Regions from separate parts of the Homo sapiens genome. Here regions 1, 2, 3, 4, 5 and 7 are each linked to region 6. Evidence: promoter capture Hi-C in 16 types of primary human blood cells and fetal thymus (Javierre and others, 2016). All regions are on one chromosome and are shown on one strand. The core of a region is centred on a gene start or on the middle of the fragment in contact, and the rest is flanking DNA. Distances in the headings are between cores, read along the strand shown.

What was found. The method cuts DNA at HindIII sites, captures the fragments that hold promoters and counts their contacts. A CHiCAGO score of 5 or more calls a contact.
Region 1: a fragment that was not itself captured here is called in contact with the fragment with the promoter of ACMSD in region 6 in 5 of 17 cell types (M1 macrophages, total B cells, non-activated CD4 T cells and 2 more); the score reaches 7.4 in M1 macrophages.
Region 2: a fragment that was not itself captured here is called in contact with the fragment with the promoter of ACMSD in region 6 in 5 of 17 cell types (M0 macrophages, total CD8 T cells, megakaryocytes and 2 more); the score reaches 7.3 in M0 macrophages.
Region 3: a fragment that was not itself captured here is called in contact with the fragment with the promoter of ACMSD in region 6 in 5 of 17 cell types (naive CD4 T cells, naive B cells, non-activated CD4 T cells and 2 more); the score reaches 6.7 in naive CD4 T cells.
Region 4: a contact is called between a fragment that was not itself captured here and the fragment with the promoter of ACMSD in region 6, in 4 of 17 cell types (naive CD8 T cells, naive B cells, fetal thymus and 1 more). The highest score is 6.5, in naive CD8 T cells.
Region 5: a contact is called between a fragment that was not itself captured here and the fragment with the promoter of ACMSD in region 6, in 5 of 17 cell types (naive B cells, naive CD4 T cells, total B cells and 2 more). The highest score is 6.1, in naive B cells.
Region 7: a contact is called between a fragment that was not itself captured here and the fragment with the promoter of ACMSD in region 6, in 4 of 17 cell types (total B cells, naive CD4 T cells, monocytes and 1 more). The highest score is 6.2, in total B cells.

What each region holds. Positions count from the first base shown.
Region 1 is chr2:134,471,684-134,474,383 of GRCh38, forward strand. All of the region lies in intron 5 of TMEM163 (transmembrane protein 163), which reads right to left. Among named protein-coding and RNA genes, the nearest start is that of MGAT5, 220 kb to the left of the region's middle. The HindIII fragment of the contact is 7,682 bases long and covers 1-2,700 here.
Region 2 is chr2:134,454,625-134,457,324 of GRCh38, forward strand. TMEM163 (transmembrane protein 163) reads right to left here. Exons shown (of 8, transcript NM_030923.5): 8 at 1,135-2,152. The coding sequence ends at 2,092. Among named protein-coding and RNA genes, the nearest start is that of MGAT5, 200 kb to the left of the region's middle. The HindIII fragment of the contact is 470 bases long and covers 1,027-1,496 here.
Region 3 is chr2:134,580,461-134,583,160 of GRCh38, forward strand. The region is part of intron 2 of TMEM163 (transmembrane protein 163); the gene reads right to left. Among named protein-coding and RNA genes, the nearest start is that of TMEM163, 140 kb to the right of the region's middle. The HindIII fragment of the contact is 1,347 bases long and covers 778-2,124 here.
Region 4 is chr2:134,500,888-134,503,634 of GRCh38, forward strand. It overlaps TMEM163 (transmembrane protein 163), which reads right to left. Exons shown (of 8, transcript NM_030923.5): 5 at 2,014-2,110. Among named protein-coding and RNA genes, the nearest start is that of TMEM163, 220 kb to the right of the region's middle. The HindIII fragment of the contact is 6,399 bases long and covers 1-2,747 here.
Region 5 is chr2:134,559,809-134,562,508 of GRCh38, forward strand. All of the region lies in intron 2 of TMEM163 (transmembrane protein 163), which reads right to left. Among named protein-coding and RNA genes, the nearest start is that of TMEM163, 160 kb to the right of the region's middle. RefSeq lists a silencer at 1,381-1,560. The HindIII fragment of the contact is 1,792 bases long and covers 503-2,294 here.
Region 6 is chr2:134,837,257-134,839,976 of GRCh38, forward strand. It overlaps ACMSD (aminocarboxymuconate semialdehyde decarboxylase), which reads left to right and starts at 1,360. Exons shown (of 10, transcript NM_138326.3): 1 at 1,360-1,483. The coding sequence starts at 1,427. The HindIII fragment of the contact is 847 bases long and covers 1,228-2,074 here.
Region 7 is chr2:134,526,961-134,529,660 of GRCh38, forward strand. The region is part of intron 4 of TMEM163 (transmembrane protein 163); the gene reads right to left. Among named protein-coding and RNA genes, the nearest start is that of TMEM163, 190 kb to the right of the region's middle. The HindIII fragment of the contact is 5,072 bases long and covers 1-2,700 here.

The sequences.
Region 1 (2,700 bases), core at 23-2,522, 370 kb before region 6:
AAACCATAACACGTGTAGGCTGTTCCACCACTGACTCCTCTCAAGGTGCGGCCGCACCTACCATGCCACTGAATTCTCAGCACTGTCAGAGTGGGCGTCTGACAGATGCATAAACAGTTGGAGAGAGGCTAAATGACTTTCCCAGGGTCACTCTGCAGTGGCAGGACCTGGAATTGTTCCCAGCTGTAAACTCTACCAGGTTGCCTCATCTAAGGCCTTATCATCATCTCTCATGTCCCTCAACAGTGGACTCCGTGAAAACAGCAACAGCGATTTCCTTGCTGGGCATTCAGTTCCTGCTGTTACCAGCACTGTGTCTCTATAATTTCTCACAGTTGAATCTTCACTGATTGATGGAAGATTATGACAAAAAGGTTTAAGGAAATTAGCCACTCATTCAAAGCCAAGTATAAATGTACATTAAAGGTAAACTCCACATAAATTTTGTCCATGCTGGCAAGCTCCTTCAACATCTTGTAGTAGCAAAGCCATAAAAGATTGATATACTTGACTAGAGAGAAGTTAAGACATATTCAGGGGAAAGATCAAATACAAACTAGGAAAAGGGTTATCACAAAGGGTTAATCTCCTTACTATAGAAAGGGCTCATGGAAATCTAGAGGAAAAAGACCAACAAAGAGAAAATGGACAAAGATATATGTGAGAGACAGTTAAAAATAACATAAATTTTAAACATATGAAAAAGGCTCAAATGCTCATAAAAGAAATGAAAGCCAAAACTATAGTAAGATCCTTTTTATCTAACCAAAAATATTACAAGGCTATGAGAAAACAGTCTCTCATACAATTCTGGTGGCAGTGCAAAATGGTCCAACCTGTACAGAGAACAATTTGACAATTTCTCTGAAAAGTACACATCTACCCTTTGAGCAAGCCACCCACTTATGTGAATTTATCTTACTGCTATACCTGTACATGTATGCAAATGACGGCACATATGGGCCATTCATTACAGCAATGAAAACACTTTTACATAACTGATAGAACAAACTAACAGAAAGTCAGTAAACAGAAGACTTCAACAACATGATCAACCAGCTTTGCCTGACATTTACGGAACATCTACCCTACAAAGGCAGGACACACATTCTTTTTAAATGTAATATTAATGTAGATCACATTCTATGCCATTAAAAAGATGTCAACCAATTAAAAAACTGAATTATACAAGGCATATTCTCTGACAATGGGATTAAACTAGAAATCAGTAACAGGATGATATCTAGAATATTCTAGTATTTGGAAACTAAACAATAAAACAACCCACTTCTTAAAAACTCATGAATCAAAGAATAAGTCACCAGGGAAATTACAATATATTTTGAAGTGAAATAAAGTAGAACAACAGTATACTGAAATTAGTGGTATGCAGCAAAAGCAGAGCTAAGAGGAAAATTTATAGTAAATAATGTACTTAAAAATGTTTAAAAGGCCTAATATCAATGATCTGAGCTTTGCCTTTAAGAAAAAATTAAAAGAAAATCAAATTAATCCCAAAGTAAGGAGAAGGAAAGAAATAATAAACTTATGAGCAGAAATCAATGAGACAGACCAGGTGCGGTGGCTCACAACTGTAATCCCAGGACTTTGGGAGTCCGAGGCAGGTGGATCACTTGAGGTCAGGAGTTCGAGACCAGCCTGACCAACATGGGGAAACCCTGTCTCTACTAAAAATACAAAATTAGCTGGGTGTGGTGCCTCACACCTGTAATCCCAGCTACATGAGAGGCTGAGGCAGGAGAATCACTTGAACCAGGGAGGCAGAGGTTGCAGTGACCCAAGATCACACCATTGCACTCTAGCCTGTGCAACAAGAGTGAAACTCTGTCTCAAAAAAAAAAAAAAGAAAAAGAAACCAATGAGACAGAAAATGAATAAACAGTAGAGAAGAATCAATAAAACCAAAGACCTTGATAAAGATCAGTAATGTAGGATAAACCTCCAGGACTCATCTAGAAGAAAGAGGACACATGTTACCAATATCAGGAATGAGAGAAGGTACATCACTACAGATCCAACAGGATCTATTAAGAAGATAACAAGGAGATATAACCAACTTGATGCCAATAAATTTGACAACTTAGAAGAAATAGACAAATCAAACGTCATCCAAGAAGTAGATAACCTGAAGAACCCTGTATCAACCGAAGACCTTGAAACTGTAGTGAAAATCCTTCTCACAAAACTTCAGGCCCCAATGCTTTTACTGGCAAATCTGCCAAACATTTAATCATTTAAAGGAGAAATAACCAATTCTAAAACATCTCTTTCAGAAAAAAAAAGATAAAGAAGAAACACTTCCCAATTTATTTCTGAGGCCAGCATTACCATGACACTAAAAGCAGAAGCATCACAAGAAAACTACAGACCAATAGCTCTCATGAATCAGACTTAAAAGTCCTCAACAAAGTATCAGCAACACAAATTCAGCAATATATAAAAAGGATAATACAACATGACCAAACGGGGTTTATCCTGGGGAACCAATATTGATTAAACATTCAAATATCAATCAAAGCAATTTCCCATATTGACAGAACAAAAAGAAAGCCCATATAATCATCTCAATAGATGCAGAAAAAGCATTTGATGTGTCAAATGTGTCACTACCCACTCATGGAGAAGGGAAGGAGAAACAGAGGAAGCCAAAGACTTCTCAGCACTCTAGGAATGGAAAGG
Region 2 (2,700 bases), core at 12-2,511, 380 kb before region 6:
GTGGAAGTGATTTTTGGGGGGGCGGGTGCATGCAGGGTCACCTCCAGAACAAAGCTGAGCTGCTGTCTAGGCGCGTCCCCAGCACACAGCTTCCCCCAGCTGTATTTCACGGTTTGCAGCACACTGTTGAAACGGCTGGTAGGAAGACAGGAAGGTATACTTAAGGAGTGGAGAGGGGAAGGTTTTACTACTGTGTATTCCTTCCCTTATATCACATCCACCACTACTCATGTTAGCGCACTCTCCTTGTGCTGCCTTCCCCTAGAAGGAAATTCAATTAGAAAGTGAACTGCTAGATTTTGAGAAAAATCTTTAAGAATGAGCTAATAAAAATAGCTCTATAAGGGGCTGAGCACCAGCGACCATTGGACCTAGAATAGATTTCTCCCTTTCAAGAGCAGCTTTTGAGCCAGGAAGCAGTGAGCCATGAGCAGCTGGTTAGGCAAATGCCCTGGAGACAGGGAAGGTTAGTCCATGCCCCACCCAACAGTTTGTCTGCAGATGACACTGGCCCTCATCTGCATGGCCTCTCTGAAGCTGGCGGGCCTCCTGGCTACGGCCCAAAATGGACACCCCACACAGTTCACAGAGCATGTTAGAACACAAGGGAAAGCCGAGTGCCTACATTTGGGCAACGCTACCAGTGTCACTTCCCCTCCCTGAGCTTCCATGATGTATATTAGACACAACGAGAAAACCAGCAGAAGAGAAACCTACAGGCTCCTACACTTCCCAATCTTTTTTTTCTTTAGTTCATGTTGTTACATATTAACATCCCTTGACGTATTCCTCAGTACTGCTGGGGAAGCAACCTGAAAGCATGGTACTGGACCAAGTTTCCATGACCTCACAGAACAAACTCCCTTCACTGGCGTGGAGGGGAGACAGGGCCCCAAAGCTGCAGCAAGGCCATGGAGCAGCTGTCCCTCGGTGCCAGGTGAGTGTGTGGCCCCTACCTGAGTGGTCAGAGAGGGCGGCCTGCACCACAGTCCTTCAGGGTCTCCACGTTCAGCACCCCTAGGCACAAGCTTCCCCTCCCAGGTCATCCTTCAGCCACAGCGGAAAACCTGCCCATGACGGGTCTCCCCATGTGTTGGTGCCGCACGGTGACGACTGCCAAAGATTGCCTTCCCATGCCATACAAAACAGGTAAAGGTCTTTATTGGTCAGCCACTACTGCCCGGGCAAGCAGTGGTGTGAGAGGTACAGAACGGTGCGGGTTGGGGAACACTCTACAGAATCTAAACCTACCGTGACATCAGCTGAGAACGTCTTGTTCCTTACAGAGGGAGCGATCCATCTCTCACAGACTGTAATGTACCCATTACCACTTAACACAGCATATAGATATATGCATATACGGATAGATTATATTTATTTATTACAAATAAACTGTAGTTTCACATCTCTCAAAAATGGACCCAGTTTTCACATGGATGTTCAGGTTCTGAATGTACAAGAAAAGGTCAATGTGCTTATTTAATTCGTCCATGCAAAGCTTATACGTGTATCACTAAGTACTTTAAAAAATAGAATGGTCTCCTTTTGAGCAAATCTGTTTAGACTTAGGATTAGTAAAACAGTATGAAATAATGAGATACACTGATAGAAATTAGGAAGTGACATACTGATGATTCTGGGTATGTAAAGGGTGAGGGGTACAATCTTCCCTTAAGACCTGCCAGGAAAGGAGAGACTTGGAACCAGGAGTGGCAGGGCCACCCAAGCTGGAGGAGGTGGGTCTGCTCAGTCCTATGCAGCGCAGGCTCAGAGCACCACCGAAGACCTTTCTGCCAAAGATCTCATCCTACCCATGAGAACCATCATACTCCAGAGACTAAAAAACGCCAGTCCCAGCTGGAGACGGGGAAGGAGGTCCATTCCTATGGGCATTGTCCCAACATGTTTGATGGGGGCGGCAGGTGATGGGGGCAAGGTAGATCCACCTGGCTGGGCAGACCTTGTCTTGTAATGACAAACCATGTGAAAGAAAACTTCCAAAAAGAAACCAGATGTTCAGTTAAATATTGGCACCCTTTGCCTATGTGGAAACTCCTCATCTCGATGGTCTCATGCGGATGCTGGCCCCCTTCACTCAAACATCTCGTAGTGACGTGTCTGCCTCACCCTCGGCACCATGTCGATGAGGAGTCTGCAAAGACGAAGACAGACAAGGTCACCTCCATGGCATGGGGCTGAAGAGCTTGGGGAAGCGTATTTTCATTTTTTTTTTCCTGAGATAATTCACATACCATAAAATTCACCCTATGTGGCTCGGTGGTTTTTAGTATATTCATCCATTTGTGTTATCTCAGAAACCCCATGTCCACTGTACCATTCACTCCCCATCCTCCCCACGCCTGACGAGAAGTACCCTCCTTCTGGCCTCTATGGATTTGCCTATTGATATTTTATATAAACAAAATCACATAACGTGGCCTTTTGTGACTTCCTTCATAATATTTGAGGTCCATCTATGTTGGAGCGAGTATTAGCACTTCATTCCTTTTTGGGGGCTGAATAAGTGTCCACTGCACAGATCTACCACATTTATCCATTCATCTGTTAATGGACAATTGTGTTGCTTCTGCGTTTTGCCTATTGTGAATAACTCTGCTGTGAATTTCACAGACAACTTTCAGTGTGGAGGTTTGTTTCCATCCTCCCGCAGTGTATACCAAGGACTGGAAGTGCTGGGGC
Region 3 (2,700 bases), core at 201-2,700, 260 kb before region 6:
TCCTTGTTCAAGAGCTCACTGGCTTCCCCACATACTATATACTATAGTAAGTGTATACGGAATAAAATTCATTCATTTATTGTGCAAAGGATGTCAGTCTTTGAGACAACAAGAAATTAATCTGGAATTAGCCCAAGATCAATGCAAAAATAAGTCAAACAACCCTAGAGGCCGGGCGCAGTGGCTGCCACCTGGAATCCCAGCACTTTGGGAGGCCGAGCCAGGTGGATCACTTGAGGTCAGCAGTTCAAGATCAGCCTGGCCAACGTGGTGAAACCCCATCTGTACCAAAAAATACAAAAATTAGCCGAGAGTGATGGTGCATGTCTGTAATCCCATGTACTCAGGGGGCTGAGGCAGGAGAATCGCTTGAACCCCAGAGGTGGAGGTTGCAGTGAGCCAAGATGGCTCCACTGCACTCCAGCCTGGGTGACAGAGCGAGACTCTGCCTCAAAAAAAACCAGCCCTAGGACAGGAGCAAGATGTGGATGGTGGTTCTGGGTTTGACTAACCAATCTCTCCAGGCGGGGCTTCATGAGATAACCTCTGGGGCTCAATTCAGTCCCTGGACCCTCTAATGAAGACCTAAACTTCCTGACCATCACAGACGCAGGTGCCAAGAACAACAGAATCAGGGCAGGAGGGCACTGAAGGGAGAGTCACAGACACATGGGGCAAATCCGACGGAAAAGGATTTGTAGTCCAATATATACATTTGCTTCCTGAGGCACCATTTCTGGTTAACCTTGATCTTCCTTTTTTTTCTTTTTTAAACCAAGCTTCTATCACCCAAAGTAGCTACTTGATGAATAACTCAACAAGCTCCTTTCCCTTAAAAGGCCAACTAATTTTTTTTTAATTAACTAGAATATACATAACACAGAAACAATTTTCACATCTTCTTCATAAGTGTCTACATGCAAATAGCCTTAGCAACACATCATGCTTATCTCTTTCAGAACATATCTAAAATTCTCCACTTTACTTTGGTGAGAGAAATTGAATGTCAACATTTATGTTCATTCCAGAACTGGGTCCACTTCCTTCCAAATGTAAAATAGCAGCTGCCACCCCACTCTGGCTGCATTGCTGCACTGCCCTTCCCCCAAACAAACCACCAGCAATTCCCCCACTTACAGGAGCTGGGAACATTCTTCATGCTCTTTATGGGGGCGGGGGGGAGATGAATTTTATGAGGTTGATGAGAAAACAAGTTCAAAAGTCAAGTCAGCTCATTTTGAGGGGAGGATCTCCTACCTTTAGTTTCCCCATACTTTCCCCTTGCCCATGTCAGCATATGCATATACACATGTACAATAATGATACCAGAGTGACCAAAGAACACAACTTTACAAGAAGCAGCAGAACCAAAAAGGCAACTACCCTTCCATCTCCCTCCTGCCCTTGAACCACTGATTCTCCATGTTAAATATTCCATCGTTCAAAATATGGCTACACATATTGAAGACTTTGTCCTTCCTAACGGTGTCATAAAGCTGAAGGGTTTCCTTGTCACCATGAGTGCGCATAGAAGTATCAACAGCACTGCAACCAGCACTGCTTGGGTTCACACACACGGCAGAGAACCATGAGAGAGCACAAGGTATGCAAGAGTTTAAAACTTTCAGTTTCCTAGAAACCACAGTCATGTCAAAAAGGGAAGACAAGAAGATCGCCATGTGCTATGGGAAGATGCCTAATTAGAAAGGAACTAAAAGAGAGGACAAAGGCTGGGAAGGGGAGTAAGTTTTGCAAAATTGTTTTCTCATCAACTTCAAAAAAGGCAACCCAAATCCCCCAAAGAGCATAAGGAATGTTCCCAGCTCCTGTAGGTGGGGGAAGGTCAGTATGGTAGGTGCACCTAATAGCAATAACTTAAGAAATGACAGCTGCCATGCGGGGGCCGCTGCTAAGTGCAAGTGCTCTACAAACCGCACGCTTTTTGCAAGAGGTTGCAGTTCTCCTGTCCAGTCTGCCACCTTTGGACTGTTCCTGCATGTAAGTTCTCACAAATAAAACCCCATATCTCATTTGCTGGCTCTGGGTCTCTTCTCTGGACTCTTGAACCTAGTGCCGTCCCTGTTGAAGTTAACTGGAGTCTGACAAGACAAAAATTCACGTCAAAGCTTCACTCAGACTAATCAGAAACCCAAGCCCAAGCTGGTGCATGGTGGTGCTAGGTCCTGCCATGTGATTCTCATGACTTGCATACAGCCACTCAGTCATCATAAGTGCTGTCTCTGAAACAAGGAAGAAAAAAATAATCATGTCTCAAGCTGATGCTTTAGTTTTGGCAACAGTGAGTCACTGGCAGGTGAGGAAGAGGAAGTGGTGATATCTCATGTGGGGGCTGGGGGTCGCCTCCATCCTGAGAGGAGGAAAGGTAGGGGGCAGAAAAATGGCTTCTGGGTCCAAGGGGCCTAAATTCCCTTCTACCTGCAAAAGTAGAGAAGAATCCACTGGCTTGAACACACTCCACATATATGCTAAGAGATCTCTACTCTGGGACCATTCTTCCTATAAAAATGGCACTAAAACATATTTCTCTATTTTAACAGGCATCTCTGTGCAATGATTATTTGGATTTTAAAAAAATATGAGAAGAACTTCATTTCTGCTTAGTCCTGTGGACAGAGAACGGTGGAGCTTCACCAGAAAGCTCCTCTCAGCACAGCAGTCACAGCACCAACTTTGGAATCC
Region 4 (2,747 bases), core at 79-2,578, 340 kb before region 6:
TCTAGTGTTCTAAACAATTATAGGATGACTAGAGTGAACAATAATATACTATATAGGTTATAATTGTATAATATATCACATATTATATAGCTAGGAGAGGGATACTGAATGTTCCCAACACAGAAATAATAAATGTTTGAGATAATGGATATGGTAATTCACTAATTACCCTAATCTGGTCACTATACATGATATGTATCAAAACATCACTATGTACCCCATAAATTATCATTATTGTCAATTTAAAAAAATAAGTAAATTAAATGTTTACAATCCCATAGCACAATTCATCAAAGGTACAGATGGTATGGGTTCTGTAAGGACAGGCGCAACCATGGAATCTTCAGCTTCTCTGAACCCCAGGTGAGGCTGGGTGTTGGATATGTACACCTTGAGGGGGAATGTAAGTCGGTGAGCTGCTTCTCTTAAGAGTATTTGCACTGTGGGATAATAACAGATTGCTCCCAGTTAAAAGTGGTTCAGCTATCGGGAGAATAACAAGGAGAGCCATTACAAGGGCCGTGAGCACAGCCATCCATCCCCTATCACATGAGCCCTGCTGGAAATTAATTTTTAATGCCAAATAAATGAATGTGTCAACTGGCATAGTGCAGAAAATGCCCACCAACAAACATTTCTCAGAGTGGAGGCATATTTGCAAGGCCTATAAAACGTAGACGTTACCTGACTGACATCTAACATGTATAATCACACTTGGTGCCCTCATATCTTACCTAAGGTTCAGATTCTGACTGAATGAAATGCAGGCTAGCAAGTCTGATGGAGGAGGAGGACGCGAGAGTCCCATATGCCAGGCAACCAGGGAGATTGGTTAAGTAGGAGATGAAGAGCACAGGACTGTAATAAATGGTAATATTTGTTCGGGCTATCTCTGCTTCTGAAAAAGACTAAATACCACAAATAGGTACATTCCTATCCCCATATCCATTTTTCCTCCCTGTCACTGAGATGTTAGAGAGTAAGCGCTGGCCAACTGTGGTGATAAATAACAGTTAAAATCCTGGTGGATCATTAAAGGGATGGCACTAATCATTTACAAGGGAGTGAGGAAAACAACTTAAAGCAGCCACTTTCATGCCTCTACTAAATGCAGGAGAATGTCTCACCTCATTTTCATCTTCCCTATAAAAACACACATATACACACAAACACACATACATGCAATACATCACCCAACAAGGATTAATATCTTTTTTCAAAAGTAAAATTAAAGGTCTAATCATTTTGGTCTTATATCAGATGGTGCATGTAGCCAAGCTCACATCAAATCACATCCTAAGAGGAGACCAGATTTTGCATTCAAATTTCCATTGCAACTTGTACACAGGGAATTATTGTAATGGCAGCATCTTCATCTCCTGGTAACCACATCAGCTGCCTGTCACGAAGACTGCATGACAGGAGGCTGTAAAAATATTTCTTTTCTCAGCACTCATAAGGGGAGGGAGGGAAAAAGAATCAGAGTGCCGGTAATGACTCTCACCCAGAGGACAAAGCAGTCAAAGACACATTTTAATATGAATTTGTGTCCTCCAGTTTCAATATCCCAGTGTCAATTGTGCCAGAAAACCTAACATGAATAGATTTATGACTGAATTGAGGTGCAAAGGAAAAAAATAATTCTTAATACAACGATCATTGAATGAACACAGAACAACAGATGCAAACAACACAGATTGGATCACTCTGCTTCACAAAAATAACCCAATTTCTCTTTACACACACAAAAAGTCTTGCTTTAAAAATAGTGAAAATAGCTAAGGAAAGGCACACAGAACCCAGTCCTAGCTCACCTATCTGGAGTCTCTTCACCTTGCCCAGTGTTTCTCTCCACCAGGTCATTTGCATCCCTGCAACAAGTTCTTCTGACCCCCAGAATGTTGTCTGTTCCCTCTCAACATGCCCGACTCCACCCGGGAACCCTGCGATAAGAGGCAGCCCAGGGGGCCAGCGCTGGCAGGAAGGATTGTTAAGGAAGAAGAAGGACCTTACCACTTCTGGGAGCAGCCTAGTTGAGAGGTCATGGATGGCTTTGACCACTATACATATGGATGACAGAAGGAATATCACCCCCAAGATGACACAGGCTCTGCAAAAAACAAAACATTGAGAATCTTAACTGGGAGAACTCACACTGCTGAAGAGTCCACACAATTGACAGTGACAAAGACACAATCTGGGAATGAACTCAATTGTAATTTGCCACACCCCCAGGGTGACCACCCACAGTCCATGGATTGACACTAAGTCACCTCTAGGAGAATACAGTTCAGAGTTTGATCACCAAAGTCAACCACAGGGAAAAGAGATCACCATCCTACAGAAGCTCACAGCATACCATGAATGCTGTCATGGAAGGGTCTTCAAGGCCATGAAATCTTTCTCCCTTGCCTGGCAAATGTGATGTTTCATTCCTGCTCAAACGGGAAGGCACATGGTTTAACAGCAGAATGGAGGCTCTGGCATGAGACATGCCAAGCTCTACCATTTACTTAACTTGTGTGATCTTGATTATTGTCTCTCTTAGCCTTGATTTCCTCATCTTTCAAATGGGAATATATTCCCTACCTAAAAAGGAAATGAGACAATGCACCAAACATAAAATGGGAAGCCATTACTGTTAGCTTAAGCAAAGGAAAGTCTACTCTGTCACTTTTGGATATGACGTTGATAGACCCCTTTGCATTTTCCCAATGATGAAAAGGAGAAATGATTTGGTAATGACA
Region 5 (2,700 bases), core at 149-2,648, 280 kb before region 6:
GTGTTCTGGGCCACTTTGCAATGAAAGGTCACTTGCACTCCAATTTCTAACAGGAAGCAGCGACTGTCATTCATCCCTCCATGCCCCTGGTACTTGTACACATTGGCCTCCCTGGAAAGGCCATGGTCCTTAGGATGGAGGAAGCCTCTGTTCTCTGATCTCCTCTTCTGCGGCCCACACCTGCTCACTGCACTCCAGCCACATGGGGCTCCTCGCTGACCTCCCCACAGCCAGGCCACGGCTCTTCATTCTGCCAGAAACAAGCTTACTCCAGGGATCAGCCTGGCCTGCTCCCTCCCCTCCTTCAGGTTAGGGCTGTCCTGGCCACCGCATTTAACGATGAAACCTGCCCTCGTTCCCAATCTGAGCTCTCTGTCACCCACCTCTAAATTTTCTTTATCTGAAGTACATCTCATCTACCACATTATCTTATGTACTTATGTAGGTTTCATCTGCCCCACCCTACTCCCACCTATTAGAATATATACACCACAAAGGCAAAAGCTTTGAATGTTTGTTCCCTGATGTATCCCGAATGCCAAGATCAGTGCCTAAACACATAGAACATGGAAAACTTTCAGATGGATTCATTAACACCTTCCCCTTAGCTCCAGCATGCAGCAAACAGAGCCTTCAGGGAGAAGGCAGACAGGACCAAGGGCTCAAAACACCGGGAGGCCCAGCCGTGCTACCCAGAAGCCCTTCCCTGAGCAAATGAAGCCGCAGCTGGCACTTTCTGGGGCACAATGGAGAAACCAGCCTCTAAATGGACCACTGCTTTAGGGACAGCTTGAAGCATTTGCAAATGGCAAAGATCTAGGATTAAGGAAAGAGTAAGGATAGCCCCGGACCCAGAAAGCCAAGAGCCAACACAGAATAGTATAACAGGAAAAAAATCCAAATAAAAACAACCCAAGGAAAGTCTCTAGCATGGACCAGGGCACCCTTGTTCCTGCTACCACACACCACCAGACTAGCTCTGTTTCAGTTTGCGTAACATGAAATGCACATGACCCCCGTTCCAAAGCAGGGATCGGCATTCCTGGGACATGGGCAGGATGCCTGCCACTCAACAGGGAGAGACCTGGGTTTCAAGAAGCTCTCAGAGGTCTCACACACAGGAGTCACCAGCTCAGAGACAAAAAGACAAAGACCCCAGCTTTTAATGACAAAACTTCCTCAACACCACAGCACACTTTCACTGTGCTGCTTCTTCAGTCTGGGAATAAGCAGGAGGAACATCCCCTGAAGGCACAGTTAACCAACTTTTATGAGCATTTATGGGCCGTCTCCGCCGTCTCCGATGGCGTATACAGCCCCTCAACTTGTTAGCACATTTGCTACACAGACCTCACACGCCAGAGCTAAAAGTAGCAGCAAAGTTCTTTTATTATTATTATTTTTGTTGTTGTTGAGACGGAGTCTCGCTCTGTCGCCCAGGCTGGAGCGCAGTGACGCCATCTTGGCTCACTGCAAGCTCCGCCTTCTGGGTTCACGCCATTCTCCAGCCTCAGCCTCCCGAGTAGCTGGGACTACAGGCACCCACCACCACACCCGGCTAATTTTTTTGTATTTTTTTTTAGTGGAGACAGGGTTTCACCGTGTTAGCCAGAATGGTCTCGATCTACTGACCTCGTGATCCGAGGTCCAGCCTCAGCCTCCCGAGTAGCTGGGACTACAGGCACCCACCACCACGCCCGGCTAATTTTTTTTGTATTTTTTAGTGGAGACAGGGTTTCACCGTGTTAGCCAGGATGGTCTCGATCTCCTGACCTCGCGATCCGCCTGACTTGGCCTCCCAAAGTGAGCAGCAAGGTTCTTGCTGAATGTCACTCACACTTTCCTAACACTTGCTCTTACACCTCCTTGTGCCAGGGTTGCCCACAATGCCAGCAGAGCTATCAAGTAAGCCTGTGGGAGGCAGGCCTGGTCAGGTGTCCTCAGACCACACTCAATTCATGTCCTGCAACCCACACTGCCAGACTAACATGAGTAGCCACGCTCAACTAATCAGTCTTTCATTCAACCAACAAGTGCTTACTGAGCACCTACTATGTGTCCCACACTATTCTGCTGAGCTGGGGATACAGCAGTTGCTTGCCCAACAATTTGATAAAACATACATTTTAAAGCCTTATGTTTCCCTTAATCATAGAATGCAGCTCCTTTAGCCCAGTAAGTAAAGCATTCATTAGATAAACAGAGATGGGGATAAAATTTATAGAACAGAACTTTCGCATTTTATCTTCTCTTGTCTTCTATGTTAAATACCTGTGAGGTTGCTGGGAGTTTGAAGCTTGTTTCTAGGTAAACTCATTTTCAGTCCATTCTTTTTACTTTGGCTTGGTGTCTTTTTGGGCCCCAAAGCTCCCTGCCCCTAGCTGCCTTTCTTTTATAAAACACAGAAATGCTCCTTGCCTTCTCCCAAGCAGCACACAAAAGCGTGAAGTCAAGGGTTGTATCATATTTGTCTCTATCCTCAGGGTCTGTGTGCTCAAGCACAAGTGCATTGTCAGTGCTCAAAAAATCCTTGTTAAACTGAACAAGACTGGAAGAATCTCTAACCCCCAATTATAATTTCTGGCTTTTATTTAATGTGTGACAGTCAATTCAGACCAGAACCAAAAGCTAACACTACGGGCAAGAAGAGCTAGCAAAGGCATGGATATTGTCACCCAAGGTCATCCTTGCCAGGCCACT
Region 6 (2,720 bases), core at 110-2,609:
TCTAAAAATGCTTGCACTTACTTACTCAGTATTAGCAAGTGCCTCCATGTTAGTTTAAGGCTTACTCATTCAGTTTTAGCTCACTGAACTTCTAAAAAAATGGATTTCAAGGATTTCCTTTATTTTCTTTCAAGCTGTCTGTTATAATTTATCCAGAATCTAGCTGAATTACAGAAGGAAGCTTTTTGACTACTCAATTTATGTGTTGTGGAGTCTGAGCTGAAGGCAGCAACCAAGGCAGGTTTAAGGGTTTGCCAGGGGACCTGGGGTCCCTTGAACATTTTAAGCTGTTCAGGAAGAGGAAAGGGTAAACACAGAACAATCAAGGGCTGTTTTGTTCCAGGCTCTCTTTAGAGGCATGACCATATAAGCCCCACTTTCTGCTATATTGGAAGCCCTCCCTGACTGCTCTGATAATGCTAAATGGAAATGGCTACTATCTTCTTTTCCCTACACTTTAGGATATGTATCATCTTTCTCTCAGTCAACCTTACATCGTCAGCATATAGCAGTTCTCCATAAATGTTTGTTAAATGCATGAATGAAGCTGGGTGCAGTGGCTCTCGCCTGTAATCCCAGCACTTTGGGAGGCAAAGGTGGGTGGATTGCTTGAGCCCAGGAATTCCATACCAGCCTGGGCAATATAGTGAGACCGCATCTCAAATTAAAAAACAAAAAAAAAAGGAAAAAAATGCATGAATGAATGAGTCCAAGACAAAGGCACTGGAGGAAAAAACATATATGAAGAGTGGACTCTTTCTGTGATTTAAAATGTGAAACCTCCCCATAACTTTTCAACACGTTAAATTTTCATGAACAAGACAACTGTTAAATATTATTTAAAGATATGGGAGTAACTAACTGAACAAAAAGCAAAATCATAAAAACTGGCTGCTTCTGAATAGTGCAAGGAAAAGTAAGAAAAGGTGAGTCAGGGATCTATCCTTTTTCTGTAAAAGCCCTCTGCATGGTTTTATTTTTAACTACAAACTATTTAATTATTAACTATGTACAACTAAGTTAAAATATTTAAAATGAAAAATCAGTCAATTTTTGACCTGCTGTAAGTCAAAGCATCCTGCTGTGCTTTTGACCTCATACAGTTGAGTACAGTTGTTTTTTTGTTTTTGTTTTTGTTTTTGTTTTTTTAAGTTTTGTGCCAAGAGTCCTGACTACCAAACTGTGTTGACCCAAAGCTTGATTAACAAATAAAGCTTGGTTAACCAAAGCTTGGTTAACAAATAAACAGAACTTTGAACTTTAATAAAGCAGTTCTAATGGACCTAGACTGGGTTGGGCAGGCCTACTGACTGCTGCCTGAAGGTTGCTGTAAAGGGACTAAGTAAATCAATTAACTCCACAGTTTTCACAAAGGTCTCTTGATATCAAAACTTCTTTCCTTGCATGCTTCTCTGATCCTGTGGAGATGAAAATTGACATCCATAGTCATATTCTACCAAAAGAATGGCCAGATCTAAAAAAGGTAATGGTAATTAATTTGCTGAATTATTTCTGAAACTTCTCCAGGGTTTCTCAATGCCTTTCTCTTCTTTGTGGAATTAGATGTCTAGTTTATCTGCTTTGGTGGGGGGCGAGGGGGTTAAATCATTTGGTAGTTCTGATTTTCTAGCTTTTAAAAATGACTTTTATATTTATTTTGAAATAACATTGGATTAAAGAAATAAGTGCTTTCTCAGAAACCCTTTTTTCCCTCAAATGAACCATTCTTTAAAATATCTGGACAATTTAAATAAGGCAGATTTACCTTTTCAAAAATCACATATTCAGCTGCTGGGAAGATACATGCCAACTACAGAATTTAAAGTTACAATTTTAAGTAGAAGACCATTAAAAATGGAATGTGATCGGTTTCAAGGACTTCTAAAATATATCTCCTTTCCAAAATGTTTAAAATAAGTTTTAGAAGCACCAAGAGATAGCTTTGTGAATTTTTTTAGTCTATTTTAGGACACTGCCTGAAACCTTTACTGTTTGATGTTCTTTATTCTATAAATCTTTGTCCTGAAGAACTAGGAAGTAGGTACATCAAAAAACCCGAGAATAAATGACATGAAGCTTTTGCACAGTGACATCTCCTAAGAGAGTATTCTTTGTGTTTCTCTAAAGATGGAAATTTCCTTTTGTCATTAAGAACTTTTGAATGAATATAAAAAGAGGAAGGTGAGGAACATGAAAGAAATGTAAAATTGGCTAGAGGTTTGTTCAGGCTTAATATCAGGTTTTACCCAATCTTCAGCATTCTGCCAGTACTTTCACACCACCGATAATGTTTCAACTTTTTTATCCCAAGTGAGGGAAAATGAATTAACCCAAACTTGAATTAAATGTGGTTCATTGTGCAAATAGATGAAACTATTTTCTTCTCATAGTTGTCTCATTGAAGAATGTTTATCTTAAGTATTTCTTTGTCCATTGGTATCTTAGGTAAGAGGGGTGGTAGAAACTGTGGATTGAAAAACAAAATCTTTGAAAGCCTATCCTATGCACAGCTAACGATAAAAGATAAACCTCTCAACCTGCTCTTCCTAAAAGGACTCTACATGTTTACACAGGAACATGCTGTTCTGAGTGCTGTTGTCCTCATCATAGTTTACTGAAGTGTAAACCACTTCACAATGTTAATGATTTCATGAAGGGAATGCACCAGTTACTTTGTGGGAGTGCATCTGCCTTGTTTAGAAGCTGCATGCAGTTTCTTA
Region 7 (2,700 bases), core at 184-2,683, 310 kb before region 6:
GATAAACAGATGAAGTCTCCCATTATTTAGTCTAAGCTGTAACCACTCAACTAAGACCCTATAAAAATGCCTCACCACAAATAGTTTTCTAGGGAGTTATCAATTAATTCTGGTAATGAAATCTCCCATATTTCTCATTTTCTTTTTCATGATAACAGACTATTTGTCAGTCATGACTATTAGCTATAACTAGGATAAAATCTCATCTTCTTGGTGATTATATCATGTCTCTTCCATCTCCTTTCACTTGCCCTGACCCCTCTGCAAATCTATACAGTGTACATGCTTACATACGTGTATGCATCTATACATACATGCATATGTGTTTATGTGCATGCTTGTGTGTATATACACTTACTATAGAGAGAGAGAGGAAGGAAGGGAGGAAGGGGAGGAAACCTTAGAAAGTATATTATAAAGAAATTTTAGAAGTTTAAGAAAAAGAAAAACCTTCAGAAAAAAATACAACAAATCCTTAACATGTGCAAAAGACACTTGCCAAAAAAAACAGCCCCAGATCCCCAAATCCCGCTGCTATCGCTGAGGGTTGAGGAGTGAAGGGGAAGAGCAGCTGTGGCAGGAAATTGAAGGTCTAAGGGCTTTACAATTTCCAGAAAAGTATGTGACAGTGAGCCCAACACCACAGGGCTCTCCACTTCCCGCTCTCCCGGGATCCTGAGCAAGGCTATAGGAATGACTTGTCCTAGCCTTGGGAATCATTCCGGTCCTGGCTGAAACCACAAACACGGGCTGGGAAAATGACAGGATTGAGATGGGATGCCCATAAATAAATCACTGTAACAGCATGGAAAGCCCTCTGATGAGGTGATATTTAAGAGGAACATACGAAAATAATTAGCCAAAGACACAATCAAAAGAGTAGCGCCAACATGTATGTTAGATATAGGTCCAAAATGGGCTAAGTCTTGGAAAAAATATTTCCAAATGCCATTCAGAACAAAATTCTCAGGTTAACTACAACCCAAGAAGAATGGTCAATGTTTACATGAGACAAAAGACAGAATAGCACCACTTCTGGCCTGTCAACTGGGCAAGGAACAGAAAATAAAACTAATTAAGAGGACACAGAAGTCCAACAAGACAGAACGAAAAAGAAACACCTGGTCCTTCTAACACCATCCAGATCCTAAATCACATTATCCCAAATGGTGAAAGATCATTCCATGTTGTTATGGAAAAACTCCCAGTAGCCTTTTAAAAAATCAGGGCAAACAGGAAACTATTCTAGAAGTTGGGAAATGGGTCTTGGTGTTTGTAAGCAGATCTTAGAAATTCAAGACCGATGAAAGGCTTACTTCAATTATCAGATGGCTTACTTAACAGATTTAGTCTAACAATTCCAAAATGAAAAACATTTTGTTCAGCTCACCTAGGTTCACCAGGAATAAATCTAACTGGCCTAACTCCATTTCCTTTAGAGATGGCTTCCCTAACCTAGTAAACCAGGAGAATGCCTCAGATGATACATTTTGATTTTAACAAGGCATCTGATAAGAGTTTCTTATAACATTGTTATGAATGAGATAGAAAAGTTAGGGTATGGTGAGGTGAACTAAACTCTGGTTAGACAAACATTCTGGAAAATCTTGATCAGCCAAACAATTTGGAGTAACATCTCTAGGGTCAATTCTTAAGCCATTTGAAAAGTGAAAAAAAGTTGTAATGATACCACTTTGCCTCTTCAATTGTCCATTTTTAAAAATGAAAACAGCCAGTGCTGGTTGGAATACAAAGTGTCAATCTCAGTGGACAATTTAGTAATATGTCTCACACTTCTGATTAGAAATTGCATTTAAAGAAATATTCTTCCTAAGGAAATAATCAGACACAAGATTGTATAAAGCCCTTCACTGCTATGTTATAATAGGAGAAGAAAAACCATACTTGGGTATTTAAGGTGAATGGTTAATAACGGTGCATCAATAAGATGCAACATTGACACTTAAAAGGAAGTACATCAAGATTTTCAATAACAAAGAAATGCTCACTTTAGAAAGTGGGGGGAAAAGCAGGATGCACAACAGAACACGTACCATTAGCTCAGCTTTATAAAAATGTGTACCAACCCGGCCAGATGCTATGGCTCACACCTGTAATCCCAGCATTTGGGAAGCCAAGGCCAGTGGATTATTTGAGGCCAGGAGTTCAAGACCAGCCTGGCCAACATGGTGAAACCCCGTCTCTACTAAAAATAAAAAAATTAGCTGCGCCTGGTGGTGCATGTCTGTAATCCCAGCTACTCAGGAGGCTGAGACAGGAGGATCACTTGCGCCCATGAGGCAGAGGTTGCAGTGAGCTGAGATCACGCCACTATACTCCAGCCTGGGTGACAGAGTCTCGCTCTGTCTCAAAAACAAAAACAAAATGTATATAAACCTGCGCACATGCATAAAAGAAATGGAAAGAAAAAAATCTCCAAAAGCTAACCATTCTCTGGGTGGTAGGATGAGGGGTGACTCTTCATACATTAAATTGTCCAGTTTTTGGTCAGGCATGGTGGCTCACATCTGTAATTCAGCACTTTGGGGGGTCAAGGCAGGTGGAATGATCTGAGGTCAGGAGTTCAAGGCCAGCCTGGCCAACATGGAGAAACCCCTATCTCTACAAAAAAAAGTACAAAAATTGGCCGGGCATGGTGGTACACACCTGTAGTCCCAGCTACTTGGGAGGCTGAGGCAA